Linked DNA regions of Homo sapiens: region 2 is linked to region 1. Evidence: promoter capture Hi-C in 16 types of primary human blood cells and fetal thymus (Javierre and others, 2016). All regions are on one chromosome and are shown on one strand. The core of a region is centred on a gene start or on the middle of the fragment in contact, and the rest is flanking DNA. Distances in the headings are between cores, read along the strand shown. Region 1 holds the start of GPR148 (G protein-coupled receptor 148). Region 2 overlaps LINC02572 (long intergenic non-protein coding RNA 2572).

Region 1 (3,678 bases), core at 601-3,100:
TCCAGGAGAACCACACCAACCACAGACTGAGGTCTTTTTACCACTAACATAATTTGAAGCCTAGCTCTAAAACTGTCTGAAGAGTGGCTTCTACTTAAGAATTCTCGAGGAATTTTCTTCTTCTACACAGCACGAAAGTCAAGGCAGGCAAACTCCCTTGCTGACCCCTTCTGTAAGGTTAGGTTATCATTTACCTTTATTGTGAGAGTGTAACCCTTGCACACTCCAGCTTTATAGTGGTATCTCCATGACACTCTCCACTGCTGTGGATCGTTGGCTTCCTTTCCTCCCTCCCACATCCTGAGCGGCTGCTCAGATAGAGCTCATGGTCCCAGGACTCAGCAGCTCTGCTTGCTTACCTCTGTGGTTCTCACTGTCAGCAACATTTTGGCTTCTGTGTGTTGGTCAGCAAGGATGCATCCACAGTGGCCAGGGAGGGTGTGCAGCAAGCCATTGGAGGGACGCAGATCAAGGCTTGACTTAGACCAGAGCCCTGCTTGATTGCCTTTACTTGCTTCCGTTTCCAAGTAGGATTTCAGTGTCATAAGAGAGCTTTCTCTACTTAAAAACTGTCAAAATGGTGAAAATCATCAGTTGAGGTCTTCTGAAAGGCCCAATTCCACTATTATATTGTGCTGTTCTAAGAAGTTAGTCATAAGTGGACACTGCTGCATTCAACATATGATTTTTAACCTCAGCTTGCCAGACTGTGGACTCAAGAACTCTAGGAAATGGTAAAGATGGCCTGGTGCCTCCTGGATGGGAGGTGGCCCCGGACCATGCCCAACAGCTGCCGGTAGCGGAGCAGGTACAGGTATGTGAGCATGGCACGGGGAAGCATCATGAGTACCTCACTGTTAGCTGCCAGGAGCCATGTGTGAGTCCCAGAGTCAATGTGGTGGTACCTGGTCAGCACCATGTCCAGGGAGAACACCACCCCTGTGCTCACGTACAATGTGATCAGCACTGAGTGGATCAGCAGGGTGCCCCTGGCCCGGGAATAGCCCTGCCCCCAGATGCCTGAAGTCTTGGCCTCTGCATAGATCCTCCAGAAACAGTTGGCAATGAGAGCTGTGCAGAGGAACAGAACGCACAGAATGGAGGTGTAGGTAACAATGACCAGGAGGCCACATCCCGGCTGGGTGCCCATGCTTGGTGGTAGGATGTATGAAGCTCCTTGCTCCTCCAGCTGGGCATCCTGCCACTTGCTGAGCCAAATAAGGAATGTGGGGAAGCAGCAGGCCACCAGCCAGATGAGGGCCACTGCCTTCCAGGCAGCCCCATGGGACATGAAGGAGAGGTAGCGCAGTGGATGGATGACTGCCAGGTAGGTGTGCAGCACAATGGCGGTGAAGGACAGGATGGTGCTGGTGCAGGCGGCGAAGACAGCATCAGTGAGAATGCCACAGGCCATGCGGCCCAGCTCCCAGCCACCCAGGCTGCTGGAGGAGATGAGCATGTGGAGGAGAATGTAGGCCAGGTCTGAGAGCAGGATGTTAGCCGGGAGCAGGTAGTGGGGCTCCTGTCGCAGCCGTTGGTTCCGCAGGATGGTCACCAGCAGCAGGGGGCTGACAGCCAGTGTGGCTGCAGCCAGCAGGCTTGAGGGAAGGAAAAGCCAGTACAGCATGGAGCTGGGCACCCTGAGGTCCCCCAGGCCCAAGGAAGTGTTGCTGGCTGCTTGGGGCATGCAGGGTGTCTTGCTGATGAGCTGGATCAGGGCCGGCCAAGCTGTAGTGCCCACAGGGCAAGGTGCCAGCTCATCCCCCATGCTTCCTGGCAGGGATGGCTGGCTTTGTCACAGGTTGTTGATTCTGCACCTGCCTTGAGTGTTGATCTGCCCCACAGGGGTCCTGATGGCACCACTCCTCTGTAGAGATGCCAGGCTCGGGCAGGCCTTAGGAATGACTGCTTAATAAAGATAAAAAAACCAATGTGAATTCAGACTCACACCTGGCTTCCTGCATTCACATCTCTGCAACTGTGCAGCTGCATGTGCGTGGGTAGACATAACAGATCATCCCACTGCCACCATTTTGCAGTCACTGACCCCTCCAGAAGTGTCCCCTATCTCAGTGGCCCCCAAACCTGTCTGCTTGGCTCACAGGGAGTGTGCAATGGATTCTCACCACACTGGATTATATTCCGGGCTGCCCTCCTAGAAAGGAAGGAGCAGCTGTCTGGAACTAGGATCGCTGGGCTGTAGACCTGGTCTGACCTCTGTCGAGCTAGAGGCTCAGCAAATTGGACCAGGCTGGAGGGGCCTGGGCGCACTCACATTTCCTCACAGAGCCTTGGGTATGGTCTCCAGCTCAGGGTGACCCTGTGCATGCGTGTGAGTGTGACTCCTACACCCCTTCCACTCAGGGCTCCATGTGAGTATTCGGTGCCCCCAAAATCTCAGCTGACTTGTGGGGTCGCTGTGTGGTAGAAACGTCCCTTCCTCTGGGGAGGAGGAGGCCTGGCAGGCAGAGACCTCATAGGAGCTAGTGGGGAGGAATGGAAGGCAGGTTCCCCAGGCACCTGGCTTGTCGGGGGTGGGGTGAGCTCAGTCAGAGCCAGTGGCCAGGGTGGCTGTTGGTGTTTGGGGATCCAGTTCAAGTGAACAAGCTCTCCCGCTCTCTCGAGGTGTTGGCTGCGTGGCCTTGAAAAGCTTTGTTCCAGTTTCCTTATCTGTGAAACACGAATGCCAACCACACTGACCTCAGGGAAACGTTGCGGAAGCCCAGAGGTAAGGGACTCAGCACAGTGCATAGCCTGAAGTAAATGCTGAGTCAATGTTAGCTCTCCCACCTACAGCATCCTCCGAGGCTCGGTCCCCTCTGCCCACAGATCCCTGTCATCACTGCAGAACGGGCTGCACTTGGCTGCTGGCAGCCTGAGACCCCTGCCCAACACCCACCGCCGGCCTGGCAGACTGCTCCAGAAGGCAGGAGCCGCGTGGGAACAGGCAGGATATTTTTAGGGCCAGGAAGAGGCAGAAATTTCAGACTCTGGGTGTGAGACCACGTCCACTGCTGCCCAGGGACCATGCTCGTCACAGCCCGAGACCACGTCCACCGCAGCCCAGGGACCACGCCCAGAACCGCCCCTGACCACGTCCGCCGCAGCCCGGGGACCACGCCCGCCGCAGCCCGGGGCCACGCCCACCACAGCCCCGGACCACCATCATCGCAGCCCTGGGACCACGCCCTCCATAGCCCAAGGCCACGCCCATCACAGCCAAAGACCACGCCCAGAACAGCCCCGGACCACGCCCGCCGCAGCCCGGAACCGCGTCCTCCTCTGAGAGCCTGTTACGCAGCTGCCAGGAGCAGCAGCGCCTGCGCCTTTTTGGCCGATTACGGTACAGAAACTAAAGGTGGTTCTGAGAAAGCCCATCACCCCTTCCAGAGAAACCGCGATGCCATGGGGCGGACCCCGCCTCCCTGCCCCAGCTGCCCTGGCCTGCACTCCCTAGGGGCCCCTTGTACTTTACAGATGCTCTGACCGGTCTAATCGGCCCCAGGCCGGGAGAGGCAGCAGAGCCATTCGCAGGCCACGCTCTCTGCGCGGGTGCCCTGTGTGCTGCAGGGCTGAGGGCCAAGGCCGAGCCTCTCTCTGCTGTCCAGCCCAGCACAACGACCCTCGCCGGCCTTTGGGGTCTTAGAATGCAGATTCCCTGGGAGAGGGAAACTCGTT
Region 2 (3,601 bases), core at 626-3,125, 860 kb after region 1:
ATGGGCTGATTAATTAAAAACTAACCTGGTGGGCAGGTGTGGTGGCTCACGCCTGTAATCCCAGCACTTTGGGAGGCCAAGGTGAGCAGATCCCCTGAGGTCAGGGGTTCAAGACCAGCCTGGCCAACATGGTAAAGCCCTGTCTCTACTAAAAATACAAAAATTAGCCGGGCGTTGTGGTGGGTGCCTGTAGTCCCAGCTACTTGGGAGGCTAAGGCAGGAGAATTGCTTGAACCCGGGAGGTGGAGGTTGCAGTGAGCAGAGATCATGCCACTGCACTCTAGCCTGGGCAACAGAGTGAGACTCCATCTCAAAAAAAAAAAACAAAAACAAAAACCCAAAAACAAAAAACCTGGCTAGGCCGGGTGCAGTGGCTCACACCTGGAATCCCAGCACTTCGGGAAGCTGAGGCAGGTGGATCACCTGAGCTCAGGAGTTCAAGACTAGCCTAAGCTAGCACCCAGCTAGCCCTGAGAAGTAAATGAGCAGCTTGATAAGCAAGAAGGTAATAGTAGTCTAAAACAACAGGCCAAGGAAGTGGAAGTTAGAGTCAGATACTTGGTTCCCCTATAGAAACTGAACTTAACATCTTGACATACGTTCCTGAGTTGTTTTTCAGAAACCCAGACCCCCACCGAACTGATCTGTGGCACATAGACCTCTGATAAGGGGGAACTGAAGACTGAATTCTGGACTACCATCCTTTGTTCTAAATTTCTTCTTGAAGGGCCTGGAGGGAGTCACACATGTGAGCCAGAGCTAACATTCTTTCCTGATGGACCCTAAATTTATAAACAAAGCTTCTTTTCATTAACTAATTGCAAATCAGAAAATCTTTTAATCTACCTATGACCTGTAGGCCCCATCTCTACAAAAAAACAAAAAAACAAAAAAGAAGAAAGAAAAAATTAGCCAGGTGTGATAGTGCATAGCTGTAGTTGCTTGGAAGGCTTAGGTGGGAGGATAGCTTGGAAGGCTTAGGTGGGAGGATCGCTTGAGCCCAGGAGGCGGAGGTTGCAGTTAGCTGAGATTGTGTCACCATACTCTAGCCTGGGTGGAGTAGAGACTATGTCTCAAAACGCAAATGAACAAAAAACTAACCTGGCTCTAAAAATTCAATTTTTCTCTCAGTGAAAATTTTGGGATTGTGCTTCTGCATCTTTTAAGTGTGTAAGATTTTTGCTAGCTTCACCAGACACAAGAACCTAGGAGCTGCTGTAATAGGGGCTACTATTGGGAACTGGGTATTCATGAAGAGGAGGAGATGCAGTGGTATACTGGGCATTTATTAGCATAAGATAGATGCAATATTTTCTTTTATTTTTCTTTGTTTCCCCCCAGGAAATCATACGTGATGTGTAGGGAAGTGTGTGGGGCAGTGGAAGGAATGTGGACCGTTGCCTCCCTTCGCTTGTCTGGATGACCTTGGATGAGGTAACCGACCTTAGCTTCAGCCGTCTCATGGTACAATGGGGAAAGAAGCCTCATTTTCATTTTCCTGGCTGTGTGGGTTAGGAATGACGCTTCGAGGTGCGGAGCATTGACGCCGTGCTCAGGACTCTTGCACTTCACTTTGAACAGATGGGTGACTGGGTGCATGGCGTGGTTCTGAGGCCTGCTAACAGGAATGATTTATTTAGAAAGTCAGGTCTGGGGGCTGGGCACGGTGGCTCATGCCTGTAATCCCAGCACTTTGGGAGGCCGAGATGGGCGGATCATCTGAGGTCAAGAGTTCGAGACCAGCCTGGCCAACATGGTGAAACCCCATCTCTACTAAAAAAAAATATATATAAAAATTAGCTGGGCATGGTGACAGGTGCCTGTAATCCCAGCTACTTGGGCAGCTGGGACAGGAGAATCACTTGAACCTGGGAGGCAGAGGTTGCAGTGCGCTGAGATCCTGTCATTACACTCCAGCCTGGGTGACGAGTGAAACTCCATGTCAAAAAAAAAAAAAAAAGAAAGAAAAGAAAGTCAGGTCCAACTAAGTGATTCCCCGCCCCCCACCTTTTTTTTTAAAAGCAGGGTTGATGGGGAAACCTCCCTTCTGTTTCTGGAGGGGAGACCCCTGGTGCAGGGGAGCAGGCAAGTTCACACGTGTGGGGGCTGCACATACCGAAAGCGTGGGCCCATGGTTGAGAGCCAGCTCTTCCTGGGAGTTTCTTGACCTCTTGTGAAAGATGAAAAGTGGCATAAGATCTCCCTGGGGCACTTTATCAGGAGAGAGATCTTGGGCAAAAAAAATACTCCCTTTAAGAGAGTTTCTTCTCTAAATGGGAACGTGGCTTTTGAAGGCTGTGAAAGTAAAACACTTAAAATTGAAGAATGAATTCGAGGGCTATAAATGGGGCAGTTTCCACATGCTTCTATTCAGGCATATCTTTTGGTTTGGGGATTTTTTCGGCCTGATGATCTTCACTGGATTCCAGAAAAATGTTTCTAAGTGAATATTATTTAACCATTTTGTTGTACTGACTATACCTGGTAGGATAAAAGCAAGCCACACATTTTTTCATTTTCCTGGGACAGAGCAGGGACCCCATTTTAGGGCCCCCCAAGCATGGAAATAAAGGAAAATCTTGAGTTCCTTTAAGGGAAATTCCAGGTACCCAGCTAGCCCTGAGAAGTAAATGAGCAACTTGATGAGTAAAAAGATAGTAGTAGAGTAGTCTAAAACAACCGCCAGGGAAGTTAGAGTCAGATGCCTGGTTCCCTATAGAAACTAAAGATACCATCTTAACATATGTCCCAGAGTTGTTTTTCAGAAATCTGGACCCCCATCAAACAGATCTGTGGCACATAGGCCTCTGGGAAGGGGGACCTGAAGACTGAATTCTAGACCTGAATTATTTGTTCTAAATTTCTTCTTGAAGGGCCTGGAGGGAGTCACACCCACCAGCCAGAGCTAACATTCTTGTCTGATGACCTCAAATTTGTAAACAAAGCTTCTTTTTCATTAACTAATTATAAATCAGAAAATCTTTGAATTTACCTGTGACATGTAAGCCCGTTGTTTTAAGATATCCCGTCTTTTTGGGCCAAAACCAATGTGTAACTCCCATGTACTGACTTAGATTTTGCCTATCACCTTTGCTTTCGTGAGATTTACCCTTGCCTTTAGAAACCTTTTGGGCAAGCCATTGGGGAAGTCAGAATTTAAACATTCGCTGCTGGTCGTCCTGCTTTGTGCCTTGCAAATAAATGCCTTCCTTTCTGCCACGGCAGAACCCATGTGGATACCCGGTCTTACTGTGTTGGGCAAGCAGGCCCCACATCGGATCTACAACCTTCCCTCTGCCCCTTTAATGGTCTCTCTGGGTGTTTTGGGTAGACTCCAATATTTTCCCAGTCCCTCTCAGACCCATCTGGTATAACATAAAACCTTTAAACTCCTAGCTTGGCTAGTTGTCCTTCTAACATCCATCTCCCTTCTTCCTCAAGAATGGAATCCTGATTTTGTTTGGGTGTTAACGTGCCCAGACAGAAACCTCCCTTCCTCAGCCTCTGGTCCATCTGCACATTGCCAGGTGACACAGTCTGGTGATGAGTTACCATCTGATGGTTTTGGGCAAAGCTTTTGCTTTCGTGGCCTAGGCATGTT

The links. The method cuts DNA at HindIII sites, captures the fragments that hold promoters and counts their contacts. A CHiCAGO score of 5 or more calls a contact.
Region 2: a contact is called between a fragment that was not itself captured here and the fragment with the promoter of GPR148 in region 1, in 1 of 17 cell types (non-activated CD4 T cells). The highest score is 5.5, in non-activated CD4 T cells.

What each region holds. Positions count from the first base shown.
Region 1 is chr2:130,727,242-130,730,919 of GRCh38, reverse strand. GPR148 (G protein-coupled receptor 148) reads right to left here and starts at 1,850. Exons shown (of 1, transcript NM_207364.2): 1 at 584-1,850. The coding sequence starts at 1,768. The coding sequence ends at 725. RefSeq lists enhancers at 2,121-2,699, 2,700-3,279, 3,601-3,678 and a silencer at 3,048-3,217. The HindIII fragment of the contact is 6,760 bases long and covers 1-2,652 here.
Region 2 is chr2:129,863,995-129,867,595 of GRCh38, reverse strand. It overlaps LINC02572 (long intergenic non-protein coding RNA 2572), which reads left to right. Exons shown (of 6, transcript NR_149127.1): 4 at 1,342-1,434. Among named protein-coding and RNA genes, the nearest start is that of LINC02572, 12 kb to the left of the region's middle. The HindIII fragment of the contact is 2,145 bases long and covers 803-2,947 here.